Linked DNA regions of Homo sapiens: all the other regions are linked to region 4. Evidence: promoter capture Hi-C in 16 types of primary human blood cells and fetal thymus (Javierre and others, 2016). All regions are on one chromosome and are shown on one strand. The core of a region is centred on a gene start or on the middle of the fragment in contact, and the rest is flanking DNA. Distances in the headings are between cores, read along the strand shown. Region 1 overlaps KSR1 (kinase suppressor of ras 1). Region 2 overlaps KSR1 (kinase suppressor of ras 1). Region 3 overlaps KSR1 (kinase suppressor of ras 1). Region 4 holds the start of WSB1 (WD repeat and SOCS box containing 1). Region 5 overlaps LGALS9 (galectin 9). Region 6 overlaps KSR1 (kinase suppressor of ras 1).

Region 1 (2,700 bases), core at 122-2,621, 300 kb before region 4:
GTTTCACCATGTTGGCCAGGCTGGTCTTGAACTCTTGGCCTCAAGTGATCCGCCTACCTCGGCCTCCCAAAATGCTGGAATTACAGGCATAAGCCACTGTGCCCAGCCCTATTTTTAATATTTTATGCTGTATATTTACTGTAGCTTTTCTGTGTTCAGATGTTTAGATACACAAATATTTAGCATTGTGCTACAATTGCCTACAATATTCAGTACAGTCACATGCTGCATAGGTTTGCAGTCTAGAAACAACAGGCTACACCACACAGCCGAGGCGTGTGGAGGACTATACCATCTGGGTTTACGTAAGTGCGCTCTATGATGCTCACGTAACAATGAAATCACGGAATCTCTCTCTCAGAACATTTCCCCGTTGTGAAGCAGCACGTGACTATAATCTTTTCCCAGGTTTACCCCTGAAGTTCAAGTGCAATGCCCCTGCACAGCACAGAGCAGGGGACGATAGGAGGCGTGCCTTCTCCAGCTGAACCACCGGGCCAGCCGGGCGGGCAGTGGGGGTTGGGGGGAGGGTTGACCCATTGGTGCTGCCACGACCAAAGAGACAGGATCTTGGAGAGAGTGAGGCCTCTGTGCAGGGGACGATGAAGGCCCAATCTGGGGACATCAGGGAAAGCAGCAAGGGTCTGGCTGATTGTGCAAAAAGAACTTTTTCTGTGACTGCCGTGTTCCAAACACACCCTTTGCTTTTACAAAAACCCAAACTGGGAGGTTTAGCAAAAGGCACAGTTTCAGAGCATAATAAAGACAGAGCAGAATGGGAGAGGAGGTTAATCAAATGGGCCATCACTCAATGCAGGGAGGGGAGGGGTGTGCTCAGGACAACGCGTGAATGTCAGGAGATATCCAGCCACGTGCGTGCTGAGGTGAAGGCAAAGAGAGAGATTCCTACAAGATCTCCGTCTCCACCGTCCCCAAAAGAAGTCCCAGGAGAAGCTCCCTGGCCTCCTGCTGGCTGGGTATGGCTCCAGCTGGGGATCTCCTGGCACAGGGAGAGCTGTGCCTGTCCTCATGGACCTGGAGCTCCAGAGGCCAGAGACAGGGGCCTGACCTGGACTCTATGGGCTGGAGACGGCCTGTGGCTGGGTCCAGAGCAAACAGGAGTGTCACAGTCACCTTCCTTCCTCTGGGACTGCGAACTGTAATAAACTGAAGGCTGAGACTGACTCTGAGGAGCTGCCAGGGAGGCCGAGGCAGCAGCTCAGTCCCAAAATGGGCAGGTGGGCTTCACTCTGCTGCTTGGAGAGGCAGACACCCCCAGGCCAGCAGCTGAGGGCAGGAGAGGCTGGAATCCTGACCTCTCCCCACAGACACCAGGCAGTGGGCTGGGGTGGAGCTGGAGGTCAGCTCTGGCTCAGGTCTACTCTGCTTTAAACTCCTGTGGGACTCAGTGTCTTCATCCACACAATGGGAACAACCTAATTCCAACTTTACATGGTCACCTATCTTATAAAGGGAACGAGAGGTCTCCTTGAAGGAGCTTACCCAGATCACGAGTGGGAAGCAGCAGGACCCCAGATTCCCTCCCTGAGGCCTTCTAGCTCCCTGTGTTGCTGGCCATGCCTCCTGGGAGCTCAGAAGCCAGTCCCGAGAAAGTGAGCACTGCCCAGGAGAGGCCACCCCATGAAGAGGAGGGCAGTGCGAGGATTATGTTATGTCAGACAGACTTGGGTTTGATCTCCATTCTGCCACTTACAGGCTGTACAACTCATGGCAAGCCCCTCCCTCTCTCTGAACCTCAGTATTCCCATCTGTAAAACAACAGCATCAACCTCAGAGCTATTGTGCTTGGGGCGCCGGACAAGTACTTCATAAACATCAGCTCTTAGCTGTGGCCATGTCTGACCTTGAATCTGCCGAACTTGGGTCTGCTGAGAAGGGGATCTGACTGTATCCCTTAGAACCCAGAAAAGCCTGGAGATGTGGTACCTGGGAAGTTGAACCTGCTGTCCCGCTGGCCAGGTGAGGGGTTGGGGGGCGTGGTGGCGCTGGATGGGTTGGATGATGTCGGGAAGGGCGCCGGTGAGGAGGGTGTGGAGGAGGTGGTGGAGGAAGGGTTGCTGCTGGAGTCCAGGTGATTCATGGCCGGAGGGTGCTCCTGCAGGACCAGAGATGTTGGGAATGGCAGGGCTGTCCTGGCCCCACCTGCCTCCCACCAGCCACACCCTCCCTTCCCCATCTGGAAAGGAAGCAGTCAGCCCAGGGAATCCTCAGGGTCTGACATTTTACACATCTAACATTTGAGGAAGGGCAGCGCACAGAGGCCCTCGCCTCAGTGCTCACTCCCCGGGGGGCTCCTGCTCAGCTTTCTGATTTCAGCTCAAGCACACTCTTCCCAGAAGCCTTTCCTGCACCCTGGCTGGGACCACGCTCCTCCTCTCCATCCTGGCACAGTTCCCAGCAGTTTTTCATCAGGGCACCGTGTCTACTGCAGATGTCCACGGGCACTTTCCTGATGAAAGTCTCTCCCACTACCTTGTGTGTTCCATGAGGCCAGGGTGACCGTCACATACTCAGTGACTGGCTCTGAGCTGGGCACACATTAGCATTTTATAATGAATTAAGTTCAGGCTCTGATAAATGTTATATCATGTCTGCTAGGCACCAGGCACTCTGCCAGAAGTAGGGAGACCAATGATAAGCGAGAGGTGTACAGTCCTTTTCTTTGGAAACCTGGCTGAA
Region 2 (2,710 bases), core at 59-2,558, 280 kb before region 4:
GTAATATGTGAGAACAAGAACACCAGCCACACTTCTGTTGTGTTTATTTTCAGCATCTGCCGGGAGACCTGGCAGGTCAAGATTTTCTGAATTGAGTGCAACTTTCTACACTGTGCCGTGTTCAGAGGACTTGATACAATGAGGGCAGAGAGGAAATTAAGCCCGATCCTCTCTGGGAAGAAAAAACCAGGCAGAATATAAACCTTGGTGCCTTCCTTAAGCCTCAGGCAGACGGAGATAAGACAGGGGCCTCAGATAATTAAAAACCAGGCCTGATTCCATTCATGAGGCTTATTTTAATGCCTTATCTATGTGGTAGTGGGACCATTAAGTCAGGCATTTGAAGCTGTTTCCGACGCAAGATTTAGAAAGCCTGTGAATAATTCCCAAGGACCTCGTGGCAAGGCCAGGATTACACACTTTGCCTGGGACAGCCACGTACACACTCCCAGCTAAAGAGCCATAGAGTTTCCCTAATCACCCTTGGCTCAGGCCCACATCAGCATGTGCCTTCTGAGCACAGAACCCAGCCAGCAATGGGGACAGGAGAAGACGGGGAGAGGGCTGGGGGCTGGAATGTGGGAAGCTGGCAGAGGGTACACAGAGCCCTCAACAGAGAGGAAACCATGCCAGGCCAGCCCAGCCCAGCAGACAGGCCTGGGATTTCTAACCATGGCTGAAACCCCTCAGATTCGGCCTGGCCAGACCCACCAGGATCCAGAGCCCTGAGGACCCTGGGAGAGCTTCTCAGGAGGCTGTGAACATCCAACCCTGGCCTTTCCAGGCTGCCCCAGAAACCCTGGGCCACGCTTGCCCCGCTCCATCACCCACCATAGTGAAGGCCACAGCCCCAAGGGCACCAGGCCAGGCAAGGGAGAGGGTGGCAGGCCCCACGTACCCAGGCCTGTCACCTTCCGCAGGCAGGTGAGGGCATACTGCAGACGGCCACACTCATCCCCGCTGGCCCCACAGCGCCGCAGCGTCTCCTTCACCTTGGCCTCATTCATCTCCAGCAGGGCATCCAGCGTGAGGTCTCGGGGGATCTCCTAAGGGGACAGAGGGACAGGCAGAGAGGCGGTGAGCAGTCGGCTGGGCCGGGAGCCCCTCAGCCTCAGGCTGGCCTCCTGCTGAGTGGCAGGGGCCAGCTGCTGGCTGGGCCGGCCTCTGACCAGAGCCACCACGTGCTTGGGGACACAAGCAGAGCTCCCTGGCCCCCACCCTCCAGGCTCCCAGAGACAGCAGCTGAAGCAGACTCGGTGGGGGGTGAGGGGAGGAAGTAAAGACCAGAAAGGTTTGGACGAGGGCATGTTGCCCAGCTTGTTTCTTCTTACTCCTCTGCACAGAAAAAAAACAGCGAGTCATAACAACTTTTTAGAATGACGAGTACTTCAGACAAAGATGGCCCTTCACAATTTTGTTGTATCTGAATCAGATAAGAGAGATTTCAAATCAAACTGGCTCAAGAAAGGAAGGATTTAAAAAAAAAAAACAAAAAAACCTCACCAAACACTGCAGAGGCACTTACTGCCTCACCTGATTTCTATCAAAACTTTTCACTGGCCCCACCTGACAGATGAAGAAAGAGGCTCAGAGAGATTATGTCACCTGCACGAGGTCACTAGGCCATACGGTGAAGAAAGTGGCAGGCAGAATTTTAAGGTGGTCTTGTGACCTTTGTCCCCTGGTGTTGCTCCTGATCTTGTTACATTACAGAAGTCTCCCTCTTATCTGCAGTTTCAGTTACCAGCAGCCAACCATAGCCTAAAACTATTAAATGGAAAATGCCAGAAACATTCCAGAAATAAACAATTTATAGTTTTAAACTATGCACCATTCTGAGTAATGTGATGAAATCTTGCGCCATCCAGCTCCATCCCACCGGAGACGTGAATTGTCCCTTTGTCCAGCGTCTCCACACTGTCTCCACTCCCGGCCTGTTTGTCACTTAGTAGCTATCTTGGTTATCAGATCAACTGCCACGACCTCTCCCCACATAGGCACTTTATCATCTCACAGCATCACAAGATGAGGGGTGAGAACAGTACAGTAAGATATTTTGAGAGAGAGAAGAGAGACCACATTCCTGTAACTTTCATTATAGTGTATTGTTATAATTGCTCTATTTTGTTATTGTTGATTATTAATCTCTTACTGTGCCCAACTTACTAACTTTATCAGAGGTATGTATGTATAGGAAAAAACACAGTATACATCATATATATATATATTCAGTACTATCCATGGTTTCAGGCATCCACTGAGGGTCCTGGAACATATCCCCTACAGAAAAGGGGGTATTACTATATACAGCAAAAGGGAAATTATCCAAGTAGGCTTCATCCAATCACAAGAGCCCTTTAAAAGCAAAGGGTTCTCTTGAGCTGGTAACAGAGAAGTCAAGAGACCTGAAGCGTGAAAAGCAGACTTTGAAGGAGGAGGGGAATGGGGGTGGCCTCTGGGAAAAAAAGTAGCCCCTGGCTGACAGCCATTGAGGGAATGAGGACCTCAGACCTCCAGCCACAAGGAAATGGATTCTGCCAATAACCTGAATGAACGTGAAGTGGATTCTTCTCCAGAACTTCCAGGTAAGAGGAAGGCCTGGCCTACACCTTGACCTCAGCCTTGTGAGATCCCAAGTAGGGATATAAGCAGAGCCTGAGTGGATTCCTCCACCTAGAGAACCATGAGATGATAAGCGGGTGGTGTGTTA
Region 3 (2,871 bases), core at 218-2,717, 270 kb before region 4:
GATCCTTGTAACGCAACCTTCACTGGCCCAGGTGAGAGCTCCTGAGACGCCTTGGGCCAAGAGACCAAAATTCTTTGGATAATGTTATTTGAATCCAATCATTCAACAAGAAAACCCACCACATGCCAGGCACTGGGGATAGAGCTGTGAATGAAATAGCCAGGTCCCTGCCAACATGGTGCTTCTAGTCTAGTCAGTTTTCACTGGACTGGGCAGCCCAGAAATCCAAAGGATTGATCAAAAACACCAAGCAAGGCCGGGCCTGGTGGCTCATGCCTGTAATCCCAGCACTTTGGGAGGCCATGGCGGGCAGATCACTTGAGGACTAGAGTTCAAGACTAGCCTGGCCAACATGGAAAAAACCCGTCTCTACTAAAAATACAAAAATTAGCCGGGTGTGGTGGCATGTTCCTGTGGTCTCAGCTACTCAGGAGGCTGAGGCACAAGAATCACTTGAACCCGGGAGGTGGAGGTTGCAGTGAGCCAAGATTGCGTCACTCTACTCCAGCCTGGGCGACAGAGCGAGACTCTGCCACAAACAAACAACAGACAAACAAACAAACACCAAGCAGTACAGGACTAAGCAGGACATTCATGCTCATGATTTTTCAGATTTCATGAAACCAGGGGAACCCCCACCCTGAAAAGTGGGTACCTTTGGCTCAAGATAAGAAAAATTAATGACTTCATCTATTGGAGAAAGTGATGTCTGCCAGTTCCAGAAGGACAGGAACTCATGTTCAGTGGCTAGAACAGTGCCGAGCACACAACAGGTGCTAAATACACACTGAGTGAGTGAATAAATAACTGAATGGAAGTAGGACCTCAGCTCTGTACCTGACCATGCTTCATCCCTTCCCCGCTCCTTGGGGCCAGCAGTCAGCTACGCACCCTAGTTATTTGCAGACGTGTGCATCACACTAGCTGTAAGCATCCAGGACAGACTATTTTGCTCATCAATTAATCCTCTGTGATAATTAATCAAGGTACCAGGTAAAAGGTAAGTGATCAATGGGTGCATATGAGTAACGAGTGAATGTAAAGGAAAGAAGAAATGAGGGGGGAAGAGAGAGACACACGTGCACACACACAAAGGCAGGCAGTCAATTCATTTACACAACTACATATCATACAGTAGCCCCAAAACTGTGCTATTCTGGGTAAGATATTAGATGACAAAATTGTGTATGAGAAGGAAGTACAAGGACCTGGGTTTGAATCTTCATCCTGCCATCAGCTTGCAGGGGATCATCAGATCTCCCTGTCTCCTGTCCCAGGGATAAGGATGAAACAGGATGACATCTATACAATGCTGGCCTTGTAGCTTGCCCCTTCCTTCCATGCTCCAACTTCAGCTCCTCTCCTGACTGGCCAGGTGATACAGGCATGCCAGTCCACCACTTGCCACCATTTCCCCATCCTAAGTGGAGAGCTGTGTGGCCCAGCCCCCACTGGGCTGGTACCAAGGCAGCCCTGTGCTGCTGGGCTGACACATTGGCACAGATCCCTCCAGGAGGCTGGGTGAGGGTGTGTGCTGCTTCCTGGGGAGGCTCCCAGTTGCCAAAGAGCAAGGTTGTAAGAACAGCTGGGCCTCTGGCTCTCAAAGAGAGAGTATGGGGCCGACAGGAGGAGGGGTGGGAAGGAGAGGCTAGGAATGAGGGCCATAGTCATGCCGACTCAAGCTGCACCCCAGGAGCCAAATGCGGGTTCGCTTTCCTGGTTAGGTCTCACACATCCTACTGCCTCATACAGCCTACATTCCTGGTGTCCACACAGAGCTCTGGCCACCCCCAGCCACTGGGAAACCAAAATGGTGGCAGGAGTAAGGCAGCTTTGTCCCCCATCTCTGGGAGAAGGCCTCATCTTAAACACAGGAACGCAAGGGTAGAGGAGAGCGGAAAGAGAAACATGTCCAGTCAGGATCACAACAAAAATCCCCTTACCAGATCCGCCTGCATCTTCAGTTCAGGAACCACCAGCAGTAAGAGCTTATTCAGGGGAACCTGTGGCTTTCACCCTGGAATCCCAGACTCTGCAGCACCCACCTCTCCCAGCTAGAACTGCTCAGGCAGCGCTTGCCACTTCCTTTCAACAACTTCCAACCGGGAAATTGCTAAAGAAAAAAAAAATGGCTCCATGCCAGCAGGCTCTGAAATCATTTCCCCAGCTGCTGCCAGAATATGAAGCTGAGACTTTTAGACGTAACTTGTGGGACAGGGGGCCGCTTGAAACAGCCATAGTGTGCAAATCCAAATGACTGGGAGCGGGGCAGGGCCCCGCCTCTGAGCTCCCTCCCATCTCATTTCCTATCCCCGACCCTTCCACCCTCCAGCCACGTGGGAGGCAGCGCTCCTCACCCCGTCACTCTCAGCCCATCCCCATGTGAATGCAGCCTTCTTGCTAGTTTTATTTTCCTTTAAACAATTCTAATGTTCATTTGGAATTCCTGCCCCTCTCTCACACACACTTCCAATATCCCCTAAGAGGAGCCCCAACCCCTACACTGCACACAGGGAGAGCTGCAGGAATCCACCCCGGCTCCCCGCCAGCCTCCTCACAGACTCCTCCTCACGCGCTTCACAAGCGCTCTGATTTCCTCATCCTCAGGGTCTCTGCAGATATTCTTCCCTCCGCCTGGTGTGCTCTTGCCTTCCCGGACATCCGTCTTTCCCTGACTACCCAGGATGAGTTGGCCCACTGGCTCCAACAGATCCCATCCCGGAGCCATCAGGGCATCTGGGGCTCTCACTTCCTGTTTCACCCCAGTCTGTGTGCTCCTGGGGCAGAGGAAGGTGTCTTCAGCATCCCAGCTCTCACCACAGGGCCCTGGTCAATGCAGTCATAGCCAGATGTCTATTCAAATTAAAATTC
Region 4 (2,738 bases), core at 16-2,515:
TAGAAATAACTCCTCCTTGTACTTAGTAAAGGCACACATTCACTTCAAGAGTAGGAAAATGTAAATGCTCTCTGCTCAGCGGCCGCAGCTAATTATTACTTCACACAGTAAGATCAGTGTTTGCTAAGTGTTATCAGCCAATGTACAGCACCCCCCAACACCGTCAAACGTTGTTCCAGTTATTTTACTTTAAAAGAGGATTTAAATAATGCGACGTGCTTTCCACTGAGCCACTAAGTAGGTGTGGACGCACAACCTTCAACACTAATTGCCCTTTACTAAGCCGACCAGGGCTAGACACTAAGCCAGAAAAGCCTTTTCCAGAGTTTCCTCTTCCGCACAAAAGCTTTCCTTCTGTCACTCCACCCAACCACCCAGCTCCTCCCTTAAGTGTTTGAAAGATAATTCTAAAAGTCTCCTCCCCCGAACCGCTGCGTTTCTTAAGGCCACACCATTTTAAAAATACTGTATTGCTTTTGCCAGGCTGTTGGGACCTCTTCCATCTCATTTCTATCTAAGAGTGGTTGGTACACACGAGGACCCCCTCCTTTCATTACCGCTTACAACCCACAAGTTTACTTTTCCCCATTGTAAACCTAAAGTCCCTGAGTGGCCCTTCCCTGTCCACTCGACAGTCATGCCCTGAGCCAAGAACTCCCAGGACAAGAGCCCTGCGCGGACCTCCGACGAAGAAACCGGGGTCCTTGCCCGCCCCAGCCACACAGCAACCGCGAGGGAGCACAGTAGGTGCTGCATCCACGTCGGTGCCGTTTACCCCTCAGCCAACTCCCACCGAGGCGGCTTCCTCCTCCTCGCTAGTGGGCTGGCCCTGGCGCACTGGAGCTCTTCCCTCAGACTTGGAGTCGCTTCCTCCCAAACCTCCTCCGGGGAGTCCCTGCCTCTCCTCGGCCCTCATGCGCCCACCCACGGTCCCAATCCTCACCGATCTCTTTCTCGTTGACCCTCGGGGGAAAGCTGGCCATCTATGGGGCACCGTCTGATTCCGGGAATACGATGCGGACCCAACAACAGAGAAGAGAGTGGCGACCGCTGAGGGGCGTGACGCCAAGTTGGTCCCTCCCGGGCCCAGGGACAGAGGAGACGGGCGGGGGCGGCCGCTGCGGCTTCTGCTAACTGCCTCGGGAAAGCTCCCGAAGGCCTCAGACCAAAGTACGGAGTCAACCACAGACAATAGACCCTGTACCCAGCCTCGCGCCTGCGGAGGAAGACAGTTCCCCTAAAGCGCCGACTGCAAACGAGACACTGGAGTCAAAATGGCGGGCGGCGCCGGAGATATCTGGGCGGCAGGGGCGCGGCCACGTGACGTCACAGCCCGAGGCCCCCGCCTCCCGACGCACGGGACGTGATCTCCCCGGCCCGGCGCGGGCGTTGCCTGGGGGCCTCGCAGGGGGAGATCCAGCCCAGGCTGGTTCCGCTGACTCTGCCTGTAGGCCGGTGGCGTCTTCTGGGCCTGGATGGTCTAATATGGAGTTTATAAGCTGAAGTGGCTTTGAAAAGGGCAAGCAGAGAATTGTATTATTATTAGCCTCCTAGCTTAAAGATTGCATGGAACTTAAACTGGCTGAACCAAAAGAACAAAAAGACATTTCAGGTTTTCACTCAATTTGGCCAACTCCCCAGCCCACAAGTAATAGGGAACTGAAGGATGCACTGATGAAAAAGACAGGATGAAAATTAACATCGTTGTGCACCACCTGTCCAGCTGCGATTGTTCAGACCTGAGCCAGCAGGTTTTAGGAAGGGCCGAGGGGAACGAGAAGGAGACTCGGGCGTGATCGCGCCGCACCGCGCCGCGGGGCCTCTCTGGACTGCCTTTGTCCTGGCCAAGATGGATCCCACTGTCCTGGCCAAGATGGATCCCACTGTGTCAGCTCAGAATTGGCCCTTCCTCCACCTTACCTGAAGGCCTCTGGGAGGCACCTAGTTGTCCACACATCAGACTGATAAATGTGTCAGTATCTGCTAGATGCCAGCTTGGTTCCCGGTCACAGATGACGTATTTGCATTTTAATGGCTTCTCGTGTGGACCCTAAACATTGCAAAGGCCTGGGGCGTATAAGACTGGGAATTCAAATATGTGGCAGATATTCATGGGACAGAGTAGAGTGTTGCATAGCCGCTTTTTTTTTTTTTTTTTTTTTTTTTTTTGAGACGGAGTCTCGCTTCTCCCAGGCTGGGGTGCAATGGCGTGATCTTGGCTCACTGCAACCTCCGTTTCCCGGGTTCAGGCAATTCTCCTGCCTCAGCCTCCCCAGTAGCTGGGATTTGTACAGGCATGTGACACCAAGCCCGGGTAATTTTTGTATTTTTAGTACAGAGGGCGTTTCACCCTGTTGGCCAGGCTAGTCTCGAACTCCTGGCCTCGAGTGATCCGCCCGCCTCAGCCTCCCAAAGTGCTGGGATTACAACGTGAGCCACCACGCCCGGCTGCATAGCCGCTTTTAAGAGATCTCAAATGATAACACTGTAGGGCATGTTTACTTCATCTTTTCTTTGCATGAGTGTATTAATTCTTCAAATAGCGAAATGTTTAATAAAACATCGCCCCTCCTTTTTTTTTTTTTTGGTTATTTATTTATTTTTTTTTTTGAGACGGAGTCTTGCTCTGTCTCCCAGAGCAGAGTGCAGTGGCGCCAACTCGGCTCACTGCAACCTCTGCCTCCCGGGTTCAGGCGATTCTCCTGCCTCAGCCTCCCGAGTAGCTGGGACTACAGGTG
Region 5 (2,700 bases), core at 162-2,661, 350 kb before region 4:
GCTTCTCCTGACCCCCCTCCCCAAGCCACCTCCTCCCACTGGGACGCCAGGTCTGAGGAGGCAGCTCTGACCCTGCTGTGGCCCTCACAGGCTCTGCCCCAGCCCCTCTCCCATCTCGGAGGCATGGGGCTGTTTCCTGGTGTCCCCCATTACCACCCTTCCTGTGTCCGAGACTCCTGCCCAAAAGGCTAGAGCCCCAGCCTGCTTTCTCCAACACCCTCGTGGGATTTGCAAGAGACCCTCTGGGAGGAGGTGTGAGGTCAGGACCCCCTGCCCAAAGGGAGTCCATGCTTTCCCATCCCACTCCTCTCAGCAGCACCCCCGCCCGATTCCACAGACTCCAAAATGTCTCCAAATGAATTAAAGAAGCCATGGTCAACCCACATGAATGTGCCAACAAGCATTTTCATTTCTTTATTTTAAGGACACTGGGAAAGGAGCCAGTCCTCTGAAGAGAACACTCTGGTCAGGTGGTGGAGGCCAGTGGGAAGCCATCAGGCCTGCTTTCCAGGAGGGGTGAAGGGTTGGTGCACGGTGCAAGGTGAGAGTGAGGTTAAAGGTCAGAGAGGAGGGGCTGAGGAGGCCACCTCCCACCAGGAGCAGACAGCTGGTGGCTTGGGACTGGGGTGGAGCTGCGTGGGGGATGGGAGGGGACTGAGCATGGGGCTTCATCTTCACTGCCCACTCCTCCCCTCTCCCTGGCTGTGCCTGCCTCCTGGGATGGTAGGATTCCAGCAGCTGGAGCCCCAGGTGCTGCTGCGGCTGAGGAAGGCAATCCCCGTCAGCTGCCTTCTCCGTTCCAGGGTGGCTGTAGCCAGAAGCAGGACCAGACAAGGACATGGCCTCTGCATTAAAGCCCAGATCCCAGGCAGGGTTGGAAAGGCTGGGCCTGGGAAGTGGGGATGATGAGAGGACCCAGACTGCCCCACACCCCAGCCCCCGGCCCCAGGGCCAGGAAGCCGCCTATGTCTGCACATGGGTCAGCTGGATGTCGCCCCCCACTTCCAGTCTGTTGATGGTGGGCAGGTTCCTCAGGCGATGGTAGTATTCAAACAGGTGCTGACCATCCACGGCCACCTTGAGGCAGTGAGCTTCACACAAGATCCACACCTGTGCAGAGATCATGCCGTTTGCACTACACTTGGGAAGTCCTCCACCCTCACTGCAGCCTCCTCTCTCCCTCCCTCCCACCCTCCCTCCCTCCTCAGTTGTTAATAAGCCCCTCACCTGCACTCTATCCCCACTGAACGACGGCTCTTCACTAAACAGGCTGTGCGTGCTCTTTCCCCTGTACTGTTCCCTGGTCTAGAATACTGTTCCCACCCCATCAGGGACAGGAGCACTGGCCTGTGCCGTCTGTATCCCTCAGGCCCAGCACACAGGAGTGCTCTGGGCCTGGGCTCCTGCAGCATCAGTCTCCTAACTTGTCTTTTCCACCCCAATGCCTTCTCCACGAAGCAGTCAGGGTACAAATGTTAAAACCTCCTTCCCTTTGCAATAGCTAACACTCCTATCACACATGCCACCTGCCAGGCACTGTCCTAAGCATACTACAGATACTGTCTCATTCCATTCTTACAACTCTAGGAAATTCATGATTATTAGCTCCATTTTGTAGATGAGGAAACTGAAGCACAGAATAATTAAGTCACTTGTCCGAGGTCACACAGCTGTCTACAAATCAAAGTATGTTGCTCCCTGGCTTGAAACACTCCTGAGGCTTTTCACTGTGTTAAAATCCAAGCTCCTTTCCATGGCTGCAAAGCCCTACATCAGTCATTTTCAACTCTGACTGCAGAGTATAATCACTTAAGGCATATTTTTAAAATACGAATGCCCAGCTGACTGCCTCATTGGCCTGGGCTGGGGTCCCAGCACTGATATTTCCTTTGTAAGCTCTCTGGGTGATTTGAATATGTAGTCAGGGTGGAGCACGCCTGCCTGCTGTTCCTGGACAGGCCACACCCGTGCCTCTGCACGTTGGCCCTAGCTGCCCCTCCCAGGCTCGCTCTATCTCATCGCTCTGTTTTGCTTTGTGCGTGGCACTGTCGTTATCTGTGACAATCTGTCCATGCTTTACTTTCCTTGTTCTTTCCCCACCTAAATTATAAACTCCCTGGAGGCAGGACCCTGTCTGTGTGCTTCATGACTGTGCCCCCAGCATGTGGGGTGCTTCCTGCGCAAAGCAGGCGACAAGAAAATGGTTGTTGAGTAAATGAAGAAATGAATAACACCTCCTTCTTGGGTCTGATTTGACACTTACTGACTGTGTGACCACAAGCAAGTAACCTGCACTTGTGAGTTTGTTTCCTCATCTGAAAAAGCAGATCCCAGCACTTCCTTCATGCGGGACAGTAATAATAATAATAATTTGTTGGCCACCTTCTCTTCTTTTGGGCCTTCATCCCAGAGGAATCAGCCCCCATACTGTTCAAGGTACCTCAAACCTCCTTTACCCCCTCCCCCTGTGCACCCATGGGAGCCTCTCCAAGCTCCAGACTGCGGTGCCTTACTGAGAAGCTCTGGCCACGGACGAAGGGCATTTTTCGGGGCAGACTTCGCTCCTCAGACCCCCAGGAGTTGTCGATCTGGGTGTTGCGGACCACAGCATTCTCATCAAAACGGGGGTTCAGGTGGAAGGCGATGTGGTTCCCAGAGCACAGGTTGATGTGGAACCTGGGGTGGGCAGCCCACCTGAAC
Region 6 (2,700 bases), core at 110-2,609, 330 kb before region 4:
AAAATCTCAACATAGAATTACTATATGATCCAGCAATTCCACTTCTGGGTATATCCCCCAAATAACCAAAAACAGGAACTCAAAGAGACATGTGAACACCCATGTTTGTAGGAGCATCATTCACAAAAGCCAAGAGGTGAAAGCAACGCATGTCCATCAATGGATGAGTGGTCAACAAAATGTGGGCCAGACATACAATTCTATAGATAGTACAAATAGCCCACGTTTGAATCTTGGCCCTGTCATTTAATTCTTGTGTGATCTTCAATAAGTTCCTTAATTTCTCCAAGCTTCCTTTCCTCACCCATAAAATGAGGCAAATGAATGTGAACCTTAGAGAGATGCTGTGGGGATTAAATGGGCTAATGCATGAAAAGGACTTGGGGCTGAGCTCCGCACGTAGTGCCCACACACCAGCACCTTTAGAGTCACTCCTGGACTGCACTGATCCTGCGCCCAGACCCATTCACCTTCGCCAGTAGTAGACTTCCTCAAGAAGGAATCCTTCCATCTGCAGTGACACCTCCAGCACAGAGGGCCTCGGCAGGGCAGTCAGTGATGCCCGCAGACACCTGAGTCCTGTCGTACAATGCAGGGGGCCCTGGGTCGTCTTGTCCAGTTCCCTTTGGAAACCTCATTGTATTGGTACAGCCGTACTGAACCACATTAATCACTAAAACATGCATGCACATCCCCCCCACTGAGAACATTCTCTTTGAGCGTATTCTACCTCCATAAAGTCAGATATATGGTTCTAACTGCTTCCTAATGGCAAATTAACAGTGCAACTCTCTCCTGTAAACAGACTATGACAAAACAGTACTTGGTTTGCCTCACTCAGTAAATCCAGTAGTAGTTTAAGGCAGCAGTCACCAAACTTTTTGGCACCAGGGACCAGTTTCATGGAGGGCAATTTTTCACGGATGGAAAGGGATATACAATGATTTCAGGATGAAACTTTTCCACCTTAGATCATCAGGCATTAGACTCAGATTCTCCTAAGGAGCGCACAACCTAGATCCTTCACATGTGTAGTTCACAATAGGGTTTGTGCCCCTATGAGAATCTAGTGCCGCTGCCTAACTTCATCCTATTGTGGTTGGAGAAGATGCTTTGTATGTTATGTTTAAATCTATTGAGACTTAATGTGTGGCCTACCACGCGGCCTATCCTGGAAAATGCTCCACAACCTAGCACTGTCTTATGAACATAGTAGGTGCTCAGTAAATGTCTGACCAGCAAATTCCTAGACTTCTGGAGAGATTCTGGAGTGAAAGCTGTGGCCTGAGTCCTGGATTGGCCACCCTGCAGCTGTGTGATCTTGGGTGAATACCTTAACCTCTCCGTTTCTCATTTTCCTCAGCTGAAACATCACAATTCTTACCTCATGGCCTTGTGAGGATTAAAGTGAGATGGTGTTTAGAAAGTACCTCTTCTCCACCTATCTGTATATATAACTGGCAATGAGGGGCTCCTAGATATTGGATTCAGATGAACACCACCTCATCCCTCCAAGGCTTCCATAAGGCTAAGGCATCTCCAGCTCAGGAGATGCTGGGCCTGCTCATGGCTTTGTTGCTGCTGGGGCCTGGATGATCTTCCTCTGCGCATTGTGGGCCATTGACGCTGTGCCTTCTCCATTCCTCCATCTGTTTAGAAACACCTGCCACTGAGGTCCTGGCATAACTTCTTCCTTTGGAAGGAGCTCCTTAATCTATAGACCAGGGGTTCAGTCACCCCAGACCTATCCATTCCCATGCCACCCATCCAAATGGTCCCCAGGACTCAGCTGGAACTGACCAAAGCAAAGACAAGCCCCAGAACACCTTGGTATAACTTTATTCACAAACTCCAGACACCCAGGCCTGGCTTAGCACAGAGGGCATGTTCTTGCCAGTGGCAAAAAAACCCGATACAGCATGTTTGTTAATACTAACCATTTTAATTTAAATTAATAGCATGTCTGGAAGACAAATGTAGTTGATAGAAAATATAAAAACTTTACTGTACAAATTTTACATCACATTCAAAAAAAGCAAGTGTGTGGCTTGTGGCCACAGAAGATGCTAGGTTTGCACGCTGATGAGATCCTGGCTAACACTGCTGCATAGCACAAACTCCAACTGGCTTCACATTTACGTCTCCACCCTCCCCCCACACCAAATCAACACAGAATAACACAGGTTTCCAGGGCTTGCCATTCCTCTCTGTGACCTCAAGAGGAAATGCCGTAGGATGACAGAGGGTGTTTTGATTTGGTGACATGGAGAGATCAACTTTGCTACACACTGCTCACAACCCCAAACTAGCTAGGATTCAAGACTTCGAGTTAGACAGAAACCCAGGGGGCTGCGGCTCTGGTGGTTAAAGGCAGCAGGGCTTCAGAGGTGAGGCTGGAAACTGGGGATGCCTGGAGGGCCAAAGCTTGGGCTCCACTCTCAGACCCCCGTGGGGACTTCCGCAGCCCCTAAGAGCTCTCCCCGAGCCCTCCCAGCCTTCTCCATCCCCTTCACAGTTGGCCGTGAGGGCTGAATTCACAGTATCTGTCATCCTTCGTGTGGAGAGAGCACACAGAAGGGCAGGTGTGCCTTCCTAACCTCAATTCACAGTCACTGAAATACAAGGGGAACAGAGGGGGCCATCATGGGGTGGGGTGGGGTTCTTTAAAGGCAGGCAGTGCAGAGGTGGCAGGCTGAGAGC

What was found. Contacts are between HindIII fragments. The CHiCAGO score rates a contact against its expected background, and 5 or more counts as called.
Region 1: a fragment that was not itself captured here is called in contact with the fragment with the promoter of WSB1 in region 4 in 17 of 17 cell types (naive CD4 T cells, erythroblasts, fetal thymus and 14 more); the score reaches 16.7 in naive CD4 T cells.
Region 2: a contact is called between a fragment that was not itself captured here and the fragment with the promoter of WSB1 in region 4, in 1 of 17 cell types (erythroblasts). The highest score is 5.6, in erythroblasts.
Region 3: a contact is called between a fragment that was not itself captured here and the fragment with the promoter of WSB1 in region 4, in 1 of 17 cell types (fetal thymus). The highest score is 5.2, in fetal thymus.
Region 5: a fragment that was not itself captured here is called in contact with the fragment with the promoter of WSB1 in region 4 in 1 of 17 cell types (neutrophils); the score reaches 5.4 in neutrophils.
Region 6: a contact is called between a fragment that was not itself captured here and the fragment with the promoter of WSB1 in region 4, in 12 of 17 cell types (non-activated CD4 T cells, activated CD4 T cells, neutrophils and 9 more). The highest score is 9.3, in non-activated CD4 T cells.

Annotation. Positions count from the first base shown.
Region 1 is chr17:27,596,684-27,599,383 of GRCh38, reverse strand. It overlaps KSR1 (kinase suppressor of ras 1), which reads right to left. Exons shown (of 21, transcript NM_001394583.1): 10 at 1,948-2,116. Among named protein-coding and RNA genes, the nearest start is that of LGALS9, 33 kb to the left of the region's middle. The HindIII fragment of the contact is 3,652 bases long and covers 1-2,700 here.
Region 2 is chr17:27,575,828-27,578,537 of GRCh38, reverse strand. KSR1 (kinase suppressor of ras 1) reads right to left here. Exons shown (of 21, transcript NM_001394583.1): 3 at 899-1,046. Among named protein-coding and RNA genes, the nearest start is that of LGALS9, 54 kb to the left of the region's middle. The HindIII fragment of the contact is 5,877 bases long and covers 1-2,710 here.
Region 3 is chr17:27,559,529-27,562,399 of GRCh38, reverse strand. All of the region lies in intron 2 of KSR1 (kinase suppressor of ras 1), which reads right to left. Among named protein-coding and RNA genes, the nearest start is that of LGALS9, 70 kb to the left of the region's middle. The HindIII fragment of the contact is 5,852 bases long and covers 1-2,871 here.
Region 4 is chr17:27,292,641-27,295,378 of GRCh38, reverse strand. It overlaps WSB1 (WD repeat and SOCS box containing 1), which reads right to left and starts at 1,265. Exons shown (of 9, transcript NM_015626.10): 1 at 944-1,265. The coding sequence starts at 983. MIR4522 (microRNA 4522) reads left to right here and starts at 1,383; the gene lies at 1,383-1,469. RefSeq lists enhancers at 987-1,046, 1,057-1,116, 1,487-1,536 and a silencer at 1,237-1,446. The HindIII fragment of the contact is 5,795 bases long and covers 349-2,738 here.
Region 5 is chr17:27,647,246-27,649,945 of GRCh38, reverse strand. It overlaps LGALS9 (galectin 9), which reads right to left. Exons shown (of 11, transcript NM_009587.3): 10 at 2,514-2,676; 11 at 386-1,110. The coding sequence ends at 964. Among named protein-coding and RNA genes, the nearest start is that of LGALS9, 17 kb to the right of the region's middle. The HindIII fragment of the contact is 7,370 bases long and covers 1-2,700 here.
Region 6 is chr17:27,625,559-27,628,258 of GRCh38, reverse strand. KSR1 (kinase suppressor of ras 1) reads right to left here. Exons shown (of 21, transcript NM_001394583.1): 21 at 1,824-2,700. Among named protein-coding and RNA genes, the nearest start is that of LGALS9, 4.3 kb to the left of the region's middle. The HindIII fragment of the contact is 2,134 bases long and covers 293-2,426 here.